4 separate regions of the Homo sapiens genome follow, and all the other regions are linked to region 1. The links are contacts of gene promoters, found by promoter capture Hi-C in blood cells and fetal thymus (Javierre and others, 2016). All regions are on one chromosome and are shown on one strand. Each heading gives the region's core, a stretch centred on a gene start or on the middle of the fragment in contact. The rest is flanking DNA. Distances are from core to core; before and after follow the strand shown.

Evidence for each region. The method cuts DNA at HindIII sites, captures the fragments that hold promoters and counts their contacts. A CHiCAGO score of 5 or more calls a contact.
Region 2: a contact is called between a fragment that was not itself captured here and the fragment with the promoter of GSPT1 in region 1, in 2 of 17 cell types (neutrophils and naive CD4 T cells). The highest score is 5.9, in neutrophils.
Region 3: a fragment that was not itself captured here is called in contact with the fragment with the promoter of GSPT1 in region 1 in 4 of 17 cell types (neutrophils, naive CD4 T cells, total CD4 T cells and 1 more); the score reaches 7.3 in neutrophils.
Region 4: a contact is called between a fragment that was not itself captured here and the fragment with the promoter of GSPT1 in region 1, in 1 of 17 cell types (neutrophils). The highest score is 5.4, in neutrophils.

Annotation. Positions count from the first base shown.
Region 1 is chr16:11,914,246-11,917,888 of GRCh38, reverse strand. It overlaps GSPT1 (G1 to S phase transition 1), which reads left to right and starts at 1,933. Exons shown (of 15, transcript NM_002094.4): 1 at 1,933-2,520. The coding sequence starts at 2,169. RefSeq lists enhancers at 1-493, 1,794-1,943, 1,552-2,489 and silencers at 1,544-1,603, 2,314-2,383, 2,474-2,713, 2,754-2,803. The HindIII fragment of the contact is 2,427 bases long and covers 808-3,234 here.
Region 2 is chr16:11,259,859-11,263,501 of GRCh38, reverse strand. All of the region lies in intron 1 of LOC105371082 (a long non-coding RNA gene), which reads right to left. Among named protein-coding and RNA genes, the nearest start is that of SOCS1, 5.5 kb to the right of the region's middle. The HindIII fragment of the contact is 6,308 bases long and covers 1-3,643 here.
Region 3 is chr16:11,350,900-11,354,542 of GRCh38, reverse strand. It overlaps RMI2 (RecQ mediated genome instability 2), which reads right to left. Exons shown (of 2, transcript NM_152308.3): 2 at 2,783-3,643. The region is part of intron 1 of LOC105371082 (a long non-coding RNA gene); the gene reads right to left. Among named protein-coding and RNA genes, the nearest start is that of RMI2, 7.3 kb to the right of the region's middle. RefSeq lists an enhancer at 1-292. The HindIII fragment of the contact is 2,616 bases long and covers 1,086-3,643 here.
Region 4 is chr16:11,368,349-11,371,991 of GRCh38, reverse strand. All of the region lies in intron 1 of LOC105371082 (a long non-coding RNA gene), which reads right to left. Among named protein-coding and RNA genes, the nearest start is that of RMI2, 25 kb to the right of the region's middle. RefSeq lists enhancers at 767-1,267, 1,453-1,512. The HindIII fragment of the contact is 1,153 bases long and covers 1,383-2,535 here.

The DNA.
Region 1 (3,643 bases), core at 684-3,183:
TTAGTAGAGACGGGGGTTCCACCACGTTGGCCAGGCTGGTCTCGAACTCCTGACCTCACGTGATCCATCTGCCTCGGCCTCCCAAATTGCTGAGATTACAGGTGTGAGCCACTGCGCCTGGCCGGTATGTGTTTTTTTAATCCCTAAAGCTTGGTAGTTTAATATTAAATTCAAATTACTGTAGCCTAGGACTCTTTTGAAAAATACTTGACAGCTTCGTTTTTGACCTATCTCATTAGGCTGAGTTCTCTTTTATCTTTACAATACAGATGTTTAAAATTAAAATACAGATCGGCCGGGCGCGGTGGCTCACGCCTGTAATCCCAGCACTTTGGGAGGCCGAGACGAGCGGATCACGAGGTCAGGAGATCCAGACCATCCTGTCTAACACGGTGTAAACCTCGTCTCTAATAACAATACAAAAAAAATTAGCCGGGCGTGATGGCGGGCGCCTCTAGTCCCAGCTACTCCGGAGACTGAGGCAGGAGAATGTTGTGAACCCGGGAGGCGGGCTTGCAGCGAGCCGACATCGCGCCACTGCACTCCAGCCTGGGCTACAGAGCAAGACTCCGTCTCAAAAAAAAGAAAAAAGAAAATTAAAATACAGATCTAGATCTGGATTTTGTTAGGTTTTTTTTTTTTTTAACAACCTAAGGTTGTTCAGAAACATCTATTCTATGTATGTGCTTCTTTAGTCTGTAATTTCTAGGCAGATTAGTTGCACCCTGTCTAGACTCCTTTCAGAAAAATACTAACAATATGTTTTTCTCTGTCTTGGGCTCCACATGGGTGAATTACAGGAAAGCTTAACAGGTACTCAGAGCAACATTTTTTCCTACTTCATGAAGGGCCTAAATGCGAACTCTTAAGTATTTCTCGTTTGCTTTTGTTCTTTTCCCAGGTTTACCTAATCTGTAAGTGTAAGATGCAGTCGATGAAAAGTACTATGGGAATTCTTGAGCAAATCAGACCATTCAAAAGGAAACCACTTCACGTAATGGTGCATAAGGAAGCTAGACTCACCAAAATAACCCTGTTAGGTAAGCCGGATACACCATGGAATACGGCAATCCTCTGTTTAATTTGCAAACCCTTTGGCGGGGAGGAGGAAAGGATGGAAAAATTTGGGTGAAGGCTTTATATGACTAGTCAAACAAACGGTGAGTCATTGAAATTTTCCAGTTAACAATCCCTTCTGCCTGGGCAGAGCCTGGGCCCCAGCGCTTTATGAGCCACACTGCAGTTTTAAGCCGGAATATCTCACGGTTTTATTGTTTCTTCCACGAAATGATTACATAAAATGAAATCAGCTTTGCAATCTGCACCGGCTTTGAAATGAAGGGCAAAATCTGGCTGGGGGTGAGGAGAAAGAAGGTGGAGAGAGAATAAGGTACGGAGACTGTGAGGCAGAGAACGCAGGAAAGGTGGTGAAAAGAGAGTACAAGAATTTTCGGGAGCTGAGTGTATTTTTCTTCCCCATGTTATAGATGCTGTCCGTTTTCCCCCAGCCTGTGTCCAGCAGGCCAGAGTGGACCCCTCCTATGGGCTAAAATACTCTCGGTCTTCGGCCCAGCACAGAGCTGCACCAACCAGGGCCTGCCGCTGCCCCCCCACCAGGTGACAGGTGGGGCCGCCGAGCGGCCACCAGACCTCCGCCTCCTCGCGTTGCCTGCCGGGAGCCGGAGCCGCTTCCGGTTGCGCCCTGTCCCTGAACTTCGACTCCCGTCGGCCCCCGGGAAAACCGCAGCGGGGTAGCGCGGGCGCTGCCGGAACTTGTAGTTCCACCTCCCGCCGCGCTAAATAGCCGGAAACGGGGGCGGCCAGAACAGAGAACTACCGAGGCGAAGGTACGGGTGGCGGCGAGGGGTCAATCCGCGCCGGGGGTGGGGTTGGCTGTGAGGCCGTCGGAGGTGGTTGGGTGGGAGGAGATCCGCTCACACACACGAGGAGGAGGGTTGAGCTGCCGCCGCCGCCGCCTCTGTCGTCGTCGCGAGTGTGGAGTCGGGACTGGAGCTGCTGCCGCGGCGACGCCGGGGATCTTTGTCGCTAGCTCCCGGCCCTTCTGCCCCGCCGCCTTCCCTCAGTCAGCGTTGCCCACTCCTCTCCGGCCGGGCGCCCCTGCCTCCATTTCCCGCTCTCTGTCCACCACACACACGGCCCCCCCGATCATGGATCCGGGCAGTGGCGGCGGCGGCGGCGGCGGCGGCGGCGGCGGGAGCAGCAGCGGCAGCAGCAGCAGCGACTCGGCGCCTGACTGCTGGGACCAGGCGGACATGGAAGCCCCCGGGCCGGGCCCTTGCGGCGGCGGCGGCTCCCTGGCGGCGGCGGCCGAGGCCCAGCGGGAGAACCTCAGCGCGGCCTTCAGCCGGCAACTCAACGTCAACGCCAAGCCCTTCGTGCCCAACGTCCACGCCGCCGAGTTCGTGCCGTCCTTCCTGCGGGGCCCGGCAGCGCCGCCACCCCCAGTTGGCGGCGCCGCCAATAACCACGGAGCCGGCAGCGGCGCGGGAGGCCGTGCGGGTAAAGGCCCGGGACGCGGGAGGAAGTCCGGCCGGGCGCCGGAGCCCACATGGCGTAGGGGTGCGGTCCGGGGGCGCGCGGCCCTGGGGCCCGGTCGGCACGTGGGGCGCTGACAGTGGCGCCGTCTGCCTGGGTGGGGCGCCCCGAGCCCGGGAGCCGGCCTTCGCGGGGCGGCCCGCGGCGGTGGCCGGGCGGGGAGCGGACAGCGGGCAGCGCGCCCAAAGACCCGGACCCGAGTGCCGCCCCTCCGCGCCCCTGCCCTGCTCTGGAGTCCGCAGTTACCCACTTGAGATGGGAACCGTATGGAACGGAGTGGGGGCCGCGGCGGATCCCTGCCACGAGGCGCAGAATGAGGACAGATGGAGCCAGGAGTCATTTGGGTGGGCGTTTAGAGATCCCAGGAGTTGGGGAGGACGAATGGCCGAGTTTTCCTTTCACCTTAGGCCCAGCCGAGAGAGCGTCTTCTGCTGCGTTTTCTACTATTGAAACTGTAATTACGGTTTAAACTGTCCGTGGCCCCCAACCGTCCTGAAGGAATCCCAAGATGCATTGCAGCCTTGTGATCGGGCAGAAACTTGGCTATCAATACCAAGATCTGTTTTACCCTTAGCATTGTGTACGCTTCTAAAGTTTACAAAGTGCCACAAAGTTAGGATTCCTCACTTAATGTGTGATAGGAGACTATATTGATTTGTGTCTTTTTAAAGTGAAGCTTACACTTTTATCCTTTGTCAGCGACACGTTTAGAGAATTTTCATTGCTGTAAAATCGTTGACCTTATTCAGATTGCTTGGAATAACTCACTGTGTTCGTGCATCAGTAGTTCAGTCTATTTCTTCAGACACTTGAGCATTTGTTATAATTTAATAGTTCTCACGTGTCTTTCTGACCGTAGCTAGTAGACATACATTTTCTAATCCATAAAATTTCGAGTTAACTTTGGTTTTTAAACATCTTCCCGTACTTAGGGGTTGCTTAAGTCGTAGGTAGCATGCTTGCAGGTGCTGACGTTGTAGGAATATCCGGTGAGTGAACTTATGTATTCTCATAATGGTGCTTATTTTGTGGTAGGTAGCTTGCTTTCAGGTACTGATTTTGTGGGAATGTCAAATGAGTGAACTTA
Region 2 (3,643 bases), core at 332-2,831, 650 kb after region 1:
CATTCCCTCGCTGGGTGACCCCAGGACTATTCCTTAATCTCTCTGAGTCTCAGGTGCGTCTCACACTTTGTAAAGAGAACCGAGGAGGCCATGCTGTTCACTGCTGCATCTCCGGGACTTAGCACAGTGCCTGGCACATATTAGGAGTGCAGTAAGTATTTGTTGAATAAATGAAAGAAGAAGCAGGCATTAAAGCAACAATGAGAAGCCACCACTTACCAAATCATCAAATAGGCAAAAATGGAAAAAGTAAGATAATGGTGAAGGCATGGGGAAACATTGTTGAATGCTTTTGCCCAGAAGGTAAATGTGCACAGCACGCTGGCAGGTGACTGGGTGGCACCTATGAACATTCAAACGGTAAGAACGGTTTATCACATGTGTGCCAAGAGGCTGTACAGGGAGGTGCAGGCCACGCTGTTTGCAAGAGCAAAAATACAACCTATGTGTCCACCCACCGGGGACGGCTAAATGAACATACGCTGAGGAGTATCATGCAGTTCTTAAGGAGCATGGGGTCGATCTATATGTGATCTAGCCAGATTGCCAGAGTATCTGTTGGGTGGAAAGTGCAAGATGGAGAAAGACATGACATTGATAGAGGGAAAAGTCCTACACAAAGGAATACTATTTTTTTTTTTTAAATAATTGGGGTCTTGCTCTGTCACCTCGGCTGGAGTGCAGTGGCACAATCATAGCTCACCACAGCCTCGAACTGACCACAAGTGATCCTCCCAGCTCGACCTCCCAAAGCGCTAGGATTACAGGCATGAGCCACCACACCTGGCCAAGGAACATAATTTTTATGGGTCAAAATACAAGCATGTAGATGCATAGAAAAAGATCCCAGGGTGGGAGCAGTGGCTTATGCCTATAATCTCAGCGCTTTGCGAGGCCCACGCGGGAGGATCACTTGAAGCCAGGAGTTTGAGACCAGCCTAGGAAACAAAGTGAGACTCTGTCTCCCTAAAAATGAAAAAATTAGCTGGGCATGGCAATGCGTGCCACCTACATGGGAAGCTGAGTCAGGAGGATTGCTTGAGCACAGTGGGGGTGGGGTGGGGGTGTCAAGGCTGCAGTGAGCTGTGTTCACGCCACTGCACCCCAGCCTGAGTGACAGAGGGAGACCCAGTATCAAAAAATAAAAATAAAAATAAAAAAGATCCCAAAGAACAGACCAAGCTGGTGCCTGGGTTACCTAGAGGGAGGAAAATTGAAGGAAAAAGAGGATAAAAAAGGAATGAGCATCAGTGAATGTGTCTAATGGGTGCTCAGCGAAGCTCTGTTGAATCTGGAGAGGCAGTAAAGGCATGTGGATATAACATCAGCCCCTGCTCTGGGCTTGCTGGTTTGGGCAAGGTGACCCAGAACGCTCTCCCACAGAGGGACTCATTACTCCAGGGCAGGCAGAGGTCCAGTCCAGCCCTCTCCCTTCCTCCAGACGAGTCTCCTCCTAGAAGCCACTAGGGCTGCCTTGGGGTGTCCGGCTTACCTTTGGCCTCATGCTCTGCCCAGGGCCTCACATTCTTGTCATGCTCTGCCCGGAATATGTTCTCCCTCCGTTCCCTTGGTGAGAGCTCTTTTTTTTTTTTTTTTTTTTTTTTTTTTTTTTGAGACAGGGTCTCCCTAAGTCACCCGGGCTGGAGTGCAGTGGTGTGATCTCAGCTCACTGCCATCTCTGTCTTCCGAGCTCAAGTGATCCTCCCACCTGAGGCTCCCAAGTAGCAGGGACCACAGGTATGTGTCACCATGCCCAACTAATTTTTTCATATTTTTGTAGAGATGGGGTTTTGTCATGCTGCCCAGGCTGGTCTTGAACTCCTGAACTCAAGTGATGCTCACTCTTTTTTTTTTTGAGATGGAGTCTTGCTCTGTCGCCCAGGCTGCAGTGCAGTGGCGCCATCTCTGCTCACTGCAAGCTCCGCCTCCTGGGTTCACGCCATTCTCCGGCCTCAGCCTCCCAAGTAGCTGGGACTACAGGCGCCCACCACCACGCCCGGCTAATTTTTTGTATTTTTAGTAGAGACGGCGTTTCACCGTGTTAGCCAGGATGGTCTCCATCTCCTGACCTCGTGATCTGCCTGCCTCCGCCTCCCAAAGTGCTGGGATTACAGGCGTGAGCCACTGCGCCCGGCCGTGATGCTCACTCTTTACAACTCGGTTGAGGGTTACCCCTCCCTGAGCCTGTTCAGGGCACTGCCAATTGGGCCAGTAGACGCTGGGCTTCCCACATCGTGGCATGGGAGGAGACTGCTGCTGCTCTGTGTGCCCTGAGACCAGACGCCTCCTCAGAGAGAACTGGGCCCTATTCTACCTCTCATTGCGATACCCGACATTCTCAACAGCATCACCACAGTGAGGGCCCATGGACATGAGGAATCTTCCTGCTCCACACTCTAACGTCCCCAGCCTGCTGCGTGCTAGCTCTTGTGCCTAGTTTCATAGTTTCTGCAAGTTCTTTGCCCCCTATGTCACCGCTACTGGTCCTTGCTGTCAGCTGCTGACACCTAATTTGTCACTTATGGGATGGGGTGGGGTGGGTAGAAACCTGTTAGGCTTGTTGGAATACTGTGCAAAAATGGAGTGAATAGGCCACGACAAAGATCCCAAGGGATTTACTGAGGAACAGGCACTGTGCTTCCCAGGCTCGGGCTTTGTGAGAGTTCTCTGGACCACTGGATTCAGTCAACTTGCCTGAAGCCACACAGCTGATGGGGAGGGGAGCTGGGACTGGAAGCAGGTGTGTCTGGACCCCTCCACCAGCATTCCTAGAATTCTACTTTCCTGCCCCTCCTATTTTGCAGCTGTTAACGAAACAATCTTGACTGCTTTCTGAAAGCCAGTGACTACTGACTACTTCAAGTAACAGCTGACTTCACCTCTCCTTTCTTCACCTGTGCCTGCTAGAAGAGTCTCATCAAGTCTCCAGGACTGGCGCCACTTTGGAGTCAGCCACTGGCTCATGCCATCGTTCCCTGGCCTCTCACACCTTCTCCTTGGACTCAGGTCCTCTGAGCTCACACCCCTCTACCCGCCACTGAGACACACAATCGTTCCTGTGGTGGGAGCAGAAAGGATCTACTCCAAACATCAAAGCAACCTCTCCCGACAGAGGACTTCAGGCCAGGTTCTGCCAAGCCCCAGGGCTCCCCAAAACACCTTCACCAAGTTCCACCAGTTCCCTGAGTTGTGCTCTCCTCATCTGATCAAGGGAAACACATAATTTCCAATTCACAGGACCATGGGAAAGTGTCCCAAGGCCACTACTACAGCTCATCGTGGCTAAAGCCCAGCAGCTGGGAAGGTCAGCAGCTAGAAGGTTCTTTCCACACTCAGTCCTATGCTGTCGCTTGGGCCTGGATGGCTGGTCCATGCACTCAGGGCAAAATCCAAAGCCCTGCCACAGCCCAGCAAGGCCGTGCCTGATGGATCAGACCCTGCCAACCCCTATGCCTCACCCCTACACCACCCCCTGGCTCGCTATACCAACTCTCCTTTCCTATCTTCAAGCACCCCCACCACAGGGCCTTTGCACTGGCTGTTCTCGCCACCTGGGGTCTTCATCCCACTTTTAGAAAGACGTCAGTGCTAATGTCACCACCTCCAAGAGGCTTTCCCTAACTTCCTTATCTCACCTTACAAA
Region 3 (3,643 bases), core at 1,144-3,643, 560 kb after region 1:
GGTTAACATCTGGGGAGTCTACCACACATCCAGCTCAGGGGCTACTACTGGGTGCCCCATAATAATTTTGTGAACAAGGTTTGCTTTTTTTGTTTTTTGTTTTTGAGACAGAGTCTGGCTCTGTCGTCCAGAATGGAGTGCAGTGGCATGATCTTGGCTCACTGAAACCTCCGCCTCCCAGGTTCCAGAGATTCTCATGCTTCGGCCTCCAGAGTAGCTGGGATTACAGGTGCGTGCCACCATGCCTGGCTAATTTTTTTGTGTTTTTAGTAGAGACGGGGGACTATGTTGCCCAAGCTGGTCTTGAACACCTGGCCTCCAGTGATCAGCCTGCCTCGACCTCTCAAAGTGTTTCAATTACAGGCGTGAGCCACTGCACCCAGCCATTGTGACTAAGTTTTAACCTAAGAATTCTGTAACAGATCTCACTGTCTGCACCAAAATTAAATTTAAATGCAATTAAAAGCAACTGATTGAACGACCCAGCCAGGGAGAGCACCTAGGGAGACATGATGACGAAATGGAATGTGGTGTCCCGGATGGGACCCTGGAACAGGAAAGAACATTAGGAAAAACCCAGAGAAATCTGAATGAAGTACAGACTTGGGTTAATAACATCTCAATATTGGTTCATGAATTTTAACAAATGCACTATACTAACATGTTAATAATAGGGGAAGCTGGGTACAGGTATATGGGAACTCTTTGTACTATCTTTGCAATTTCTCTCTCTCTCTCTCTCGTGTGTGTGTGTGTGTATGTGTGTGTGTAGACAAGCAAGAACATACTGATCCTCCCAGCAATAATGATTTGGTGCCTACCAAGTGTCACATACCATGTAAAAGTGATCTACATCTTCATTTATTCCTCACACCAGTGCTATGAGCTGGGCATAATCTGCATTTTACAGATAAAGAAACTGAACAATGGAGAGGTTACGTACCTTGCTCATAGTCACACGGCAAGGTTACTTGCAAATGAAGGGCTCAAATTCAGGTTGACAGGACTGCAAAGTTCCTGTTAAAGCTCAGCAATATTGCCCGAAAAATCCCAAACTGTGAACATAAAACAGTTCAAAACAAGCTTCTTGTGGGCAACAAAAATGATGCATACTTTCCAATCTGCCCGGCTTTAAAAAGAAAATAGTTTAAAAGCACAGCACACCCGAGACACTGACAACACTCAGTGCTGGAGACGATGTGGAACAGTGACTCCCCTTCATTGCTGGTGAGAATGCAAAAGCAGACTGGCAGTTTCTACAAGGCTAACCATAGGTCTACCATATGGCCCAGCAATTGCACTCCTAGGCATTTACCCCAATGAGCTGAAAACTTACACCCACTCAAAACCTGGGCATGAATGTTTACAGCAGCTCTATTCATAGTTATCAGAGACTGGAGTCAAGATGTCCTTCAATAGGTGGATTAGATAAAACTATGGTACATCCATACAATGGAACATTATTCAGTGATAAAAAGAAATGAGCTGGCTGGGCGTGGTGGCTCATACCTGTAATCCCAGCACTTTGGGAGGCCAAGGTGGGAGGATTGCTTGAGCCGAGGAATTTGTGCCTGTAGTACCAGCTACTCAGGAGGATGACATGGGAGGATTGCTTGAGTTTGGGAGGTTGAGGCTGCAGTAAGCCACGTTCACGCCACTGTACGCCAGCCTGGGTGACAGGGCAAGGCCCCATCTTAAACAAACAAACAAAAATAAAAAACTCAAAATAAATAAATAAATAAATTAGCTGGGTGTGGTGGCACACATCTGTAATCCCAGCTACTCAGGAGGCTGAGGCGGGAGAATCGCTTGAACCCGGGAGGCAGAGGTTGCAGTGAGCAGAGATCACACCACTGCACTCCAGCCTGGGTGACAGGGTTAGACTCTGTCTCAAAAAAAAAAAAAAAAAAAAAAACAGTACCTAAGGAATTCTTCATGTTTCTATCTTGTAATAAGCACGGGCATTTATTGAAAAAAAAAAAAAAAAAAAAAAGCTAACAAGCTGCAAAAAGACCTGGAGGAGTCCAGACACAATGGCTCACACCTGTAATCCCAGCACTTTGGGAGGCCAAGATGGGAAGATTGCTTGAGCCCAGGAGTTTGAGACCAGCCTGGGCAACATGGCAAAACCTTGTCTCTACAAAAAATACAAAAAAATTAACCAGGCAAGGTGATGCGCACCTGTAGTCCTGCTACCTGAGAGGCTGAGATGGGAGGATCCTGAGCCTGAGAGGTTGAGGCTGTGGTGAGCTGTGATTGTGCCCTTGCACTCCAGCCTGGGCAAGACTGAGATTGTCTTAAAAAAGAAAAAAAAAAAAAGATATGGAGGAATCTTATATGCATAGTAAATGAAAGAAGCCAGTCTGAAAAAATTACTTACTGTATGATCCAACTATATGATATTCTGGAAAAGGCAAAACTGAAAAGAAAGATCAGTGACTGTCAGGGTTGGTGGGGAGGGGTGAATAAGGGGAACCCAGAGGATTTTTAGGGCAGTGAAGCTATTCTGGACGATACTGTAGTGGTGGATACATGTTATTATGCATTTGGCAAAATCCACAGAATGTATAAGAGAAGGAATAAAGCCTAATGTAAACTAAACTTTAGTTAATAAGAATGTAATGTTGGTTTATCAAATGTACCATCCTAATAAAAGATGTTCATAGCTGGAAAAACTGGGAGTGGGGTGTGTGGAGTATATGCGAACGCTGTAGTTTCTCCTCTATTTTCCTGAACACCTAAAACTGTTTTCTTAAGTCCATTAAAAAAAAAAACTCATACAGCCTATTAAAAATTTATTAGAGGTAGAATATCAATAATCCAGGTGAAAGTCTACAACCATGTCAGAACACAATCTAACTCCTTTGATATTTACAATCTCAAAAAATTCAGGCATGGGTACTAAGCAGACAGCAGAAACCCAACATTCAAAACCATCACAGCAAAAAGTCATTCCATACAAAGACAAAAGAACTCTACACCAGGAGGCTCACCATGTCTCGCCGAAAGTTATGAAGTGGAAGTTTAGCTAATGCCTGAAAGGCGTCCTTTATCTTGATGTTTTTCATTTCAACAAGAAATTCTGAAAACGTCTCAACATCTCTGAGTAATGGAAGAAGGCATCACCTTCTCTAGCTAGGAAAAGGGATAGAGCTGCGTCTAAATGTTTGAGTGGTGTCCGAAGCAGAAAGGGAGCTGTTGTCTTTCAGGGGCCGCCATGCCTGCCGTTAGGAAATGCCATTTGACTCGCAAACTGGTTATGGTAGTTGCTGATGAAGAAGATGAGGAGCCAGGATGTCATTCCTTTTTTACACAGTCTGTCTTCCTGCCCATAACCACACTTTAATCACCATGGGCAACGACCGTACTTAAATTTTGCATTGTAAAACAGGGACGCAGCAGTAATGGAAAAAGTATCATCACTCATAAAATTTGGAAAATGCAACATGAGACTTCTGTGTCTGAGAGAGAGAGAGAGAATTAACACACACAAACCAGGAAGGAAAATGAAACACAAGCATCTGCTTTTCATCAGCAAACACAGGCAAAGCAAGGGGCAGCAGAGGCTGTGTCACTGAAGTATCCGAGGATTTAAACATTCCTACATCCGGACTCCTTGGTCAACCAAAGCAAGGCTCTCTGA
Region 4 (3,643 bases), core at 710-3,209, 550 kb after region 1:
GTTGATCATCCACTCAAGAGAGGGGGAGGCGTGGGCAGCTATGGAATCTGCTCACCGATAGGGGGTGCCCTCGAGCCCTCTCTGCACTGAGCCTGGTAGGAGCTTGTAGGGCCCAGATTCCAGAGCAAAGGGCAAGGCATCAGCCACGGGGACTGAGGCAAGCTGAAGGCCAGACTTGACCGTCCTTGACCTCCGCCCCACCATCCCCCCCATGAATCCCTGGTGCATAGCAGGTGCTAGATGAAGTTCAGAAGAAAGAACTCCAGGGTGAATGGGAACAAGAAGGTTGGTCCTCCACACCCCCACACTGGAGGGAAGACAGAAGGGAGAGTGGCTGTGATTTGAGTGCTTTGCTGTGGTTACAGCCTAAAGACCCTGGAGACCAGGCACTGCTCCAAGTGCCTTGAAAGATGTTTGATCTGGGGGCTGGGTGCAGTGGCTCACGCCTGTAATCCCAGCACTTTGGGAGGCCGAGGCGGGTGGATCATGAGGTCAGGAATTCAAGACCAGCCTGGCCAACACGGTGAAACCTCATCTCTACTGGAAAAAAAAAAAAAAAAAAAAAAAATCCGGGCATGGTGGCTGGCGCCTGTAATCCCAGCTACCCAGGAGGCTGAGGCAGAGAACTGCTTGAACCCAGGAGGCGGAGACTGCAGTGAGCCAAGATCACACCACTGCACTCCAGCCTGGCGACAGAGTGAGACTCCGTCTCAAAAAAAAAAAAAAAAAGTTTGGGTCGGGCACAGTGGGTCACGCCTGTAATCCCAGCACTTTGGGAGGCCAAGGTGGGTGGATCATGAGGTCAGCAAATCGAGACCATCTTGGCTAACACGGTGAAACCCCGTCTCTACTAAACATACAAAAAATTAGCCGAGTGAGGTGGCGGGCTCCTGTAGTCCCAGCTACTTGGGAGGTTGGGGCAGGAGAATGGCGTGAACACGGGAGGTGGAGCTTGCAGTGAGCGGAGATCGTGCCACTGCACTGTAGCCTGGGCGACAGAGCGAAGGCTCCATCTCAAAAAAAAAAAAAAAAAAAAAGTTTGATCTTAGGCCTTACAATAGTCCAATGAGGAACGGATGATCCCCACTTAATGAGAGAAGAAACAAAGGCTCAGAGAGTTGAGGGGATTTCCCCAAGGTCATACAAGCTACAAACAGCCAGGATGGCACTGACGCGGGCCTGCCTGCCTCCCAAGGCTGCCCAAGCTCACTCAACCCCCACTTCTGCTTTTGCAATAAAAGAAAAGCAAATCACTGGTGCTCAGGGGCCCATGAGCAATTCAGAGTCAGATGCAACTAGAGTGTGCAGCCACCTGACCTGTTGGTTTCTCAATATGCTTAACGGATCCATGATTTCTGGTCCAGAAAGGAAACGCAGAAGCTTTCCTTCCTGCCTCCCACATTCTATGGGTCAAGTATTTACCAAAAACACAGCAGTGGACTGGACACCAGCAGAGATACAAAGAGGGAAACATAGTTCTCCCTTCTCAAGGCAGGTTGGACAACATCAATACTTTCCAACTGGGGGGTGTGGGTGGAGTACTTATGCATGAATTTGAAACAGATAGGAGAGGGAATGATTCCAGCGGAAAGACCAATTCACGTCTACAATATACACTGAACTCCAGCCTGGACAACATAGCAAGACTCTGTCTCTAAAAAAATTTAATCATTAGCCAGGCATGGTGGCACATGCCTGTCTAGGAGGCTGAGGCAGGAGGATCACTTGAGCCCAGGAGTTCAAAATCACAATCAACTATGATCACACCACTGCACTCCAGCCTGGGCATCAGAGCAAGGCCCTATCTCCAAAACAAAACAAGGTAAGATGTTTACATACAAATCAAGGTAAGAAAATCCAAAATAAAATATTACCAAACAAACCCCACTGGGGCCTTAAAAAAAAAGTGACCTAAACCAAGTGAGAATTGTACAGTGTGACAAGGATAGCTCAAAATTAGAACATCTTTTAATTTCAAATATATATATATATATATATATATATATATATATACACACATATTTTTTTTTTTTTTTTTTTTTTCCTGAGATGGAGTCTCGCTCTATTGCCCAGGCTGGAGTGCAGTGGTGCGATCTAGGCTCACTGCAAGCTCCGCTTCCTGGGTTCACTCAGTTCTCCTGCCTCACCCTCCCGGGACTACAGGCGTCCGCCACCACACCTGACTAGCTTTTTTGTATTTTTAGAAGAGATGGGGTTTCACCATGTTAGCCAGGATGGTCTTGACCTCCTGACCTTGTGATCTGCCTGCCTCAGCCTCCCAAAGTGCTGGGATTACAGGTGTGAGCCACTGCGCCCAGCCTAATTTCATTCATATTAATATGTTAAAAATCATAATCATCGTAGATGTTGAAAAGGCATTTGACAAAATTTACTACAAAATTTAGAAAAAAACACATCAAATTAGAAAGAGGGATACTTCCTTAAATTACACACGATAAAGGAAATTACACCCAGACACACACCCATCAAGCCAGAGCCCAGCATCATTTATAGGGGATGGAAGCAACAGAAGCTTCCATTAACCTTCGCAACAAAAGAATGCCCTCTGTTACCACTATTATTTTGGAGGCCCTAGCTGATGAAACTAGGCAAGGAGGAAAGTAAGACATTTAAGAAAAAAGCAGGAGGTAAAATAATTTACTCTGAAAAATGAGGCAGACAGATTTTGCTAAGGAGTTAGGTACAAAAGTAACATAATAAGCAGCCTTCCTTTTTCTTAATTTTTAAAATATAGAGATGGGGCCGGGCACAGCTCACGCCTGTAATCCCAGCACTTTGGGAGGCCGAGAGAGGCGGATTGCTCGAGGCCAGGAGTTCGGTACCAGCCTGGCCAACATGGCAAAACTCCACCTCTACTAATAATACAAAAATTAGCTGGGTGTGATGGCACACACCTGTAATACCGGGTACTCAGAAGGCTGAGGCATGAGAATTGCTTGAACCCAGGACATGGAGGTTGCAGTGAACCGGGACTGCATTACTGCACTTAGCCTGGGTGACAAAGAAAGACCCTGTCTCAAAAAAAAAATAACATAAAGATGCGGTCTTACTATGATGCCCAGGCTGGTCTCAAACTCCTGGGCTCGAGCAGTCCTTCTGCCTCAGTCTCCCTAAGTGCTAGGATTATAGATGTGAGCCACCAAGGCTGGCCTCAGTCCTCCTATGTACAAACAAGCAGTTAGAAAAGTTAACAGAAGAAAACATCCCATTTGCAACAGCACACTCCCAAAAAACAAAATTCTCAGAAATAAATGTGCAAAAATATACACACACAATCCATATGAAGAAATCTTTCAAATGCTGCTGAGGGATATGAAACACTTTGAATGCAAAGAAGGCCATGCTGCATGTGTTATCGAGAAACGTTCAACATTAAAAAGATGTCACATCAATATCAAGAGGGGGTGTGTGGAAATGGAGGCTCCACACATGCTGGGGGGAACGTGGCGGCATGGCAACTCCAAAACACAGTTTGGCGGTTTCTTAAAAGGTGAATATAAATCTACCTTATGGGGCTGGACACAGTGGCTCACGCCTGTAATCCCAGCACTTTGGTAGGCCAAGGCAGGTGGATAACCTGAGGTCAGGAGTTCGAGACGAGCCTAGCCAACATGGTGAAACC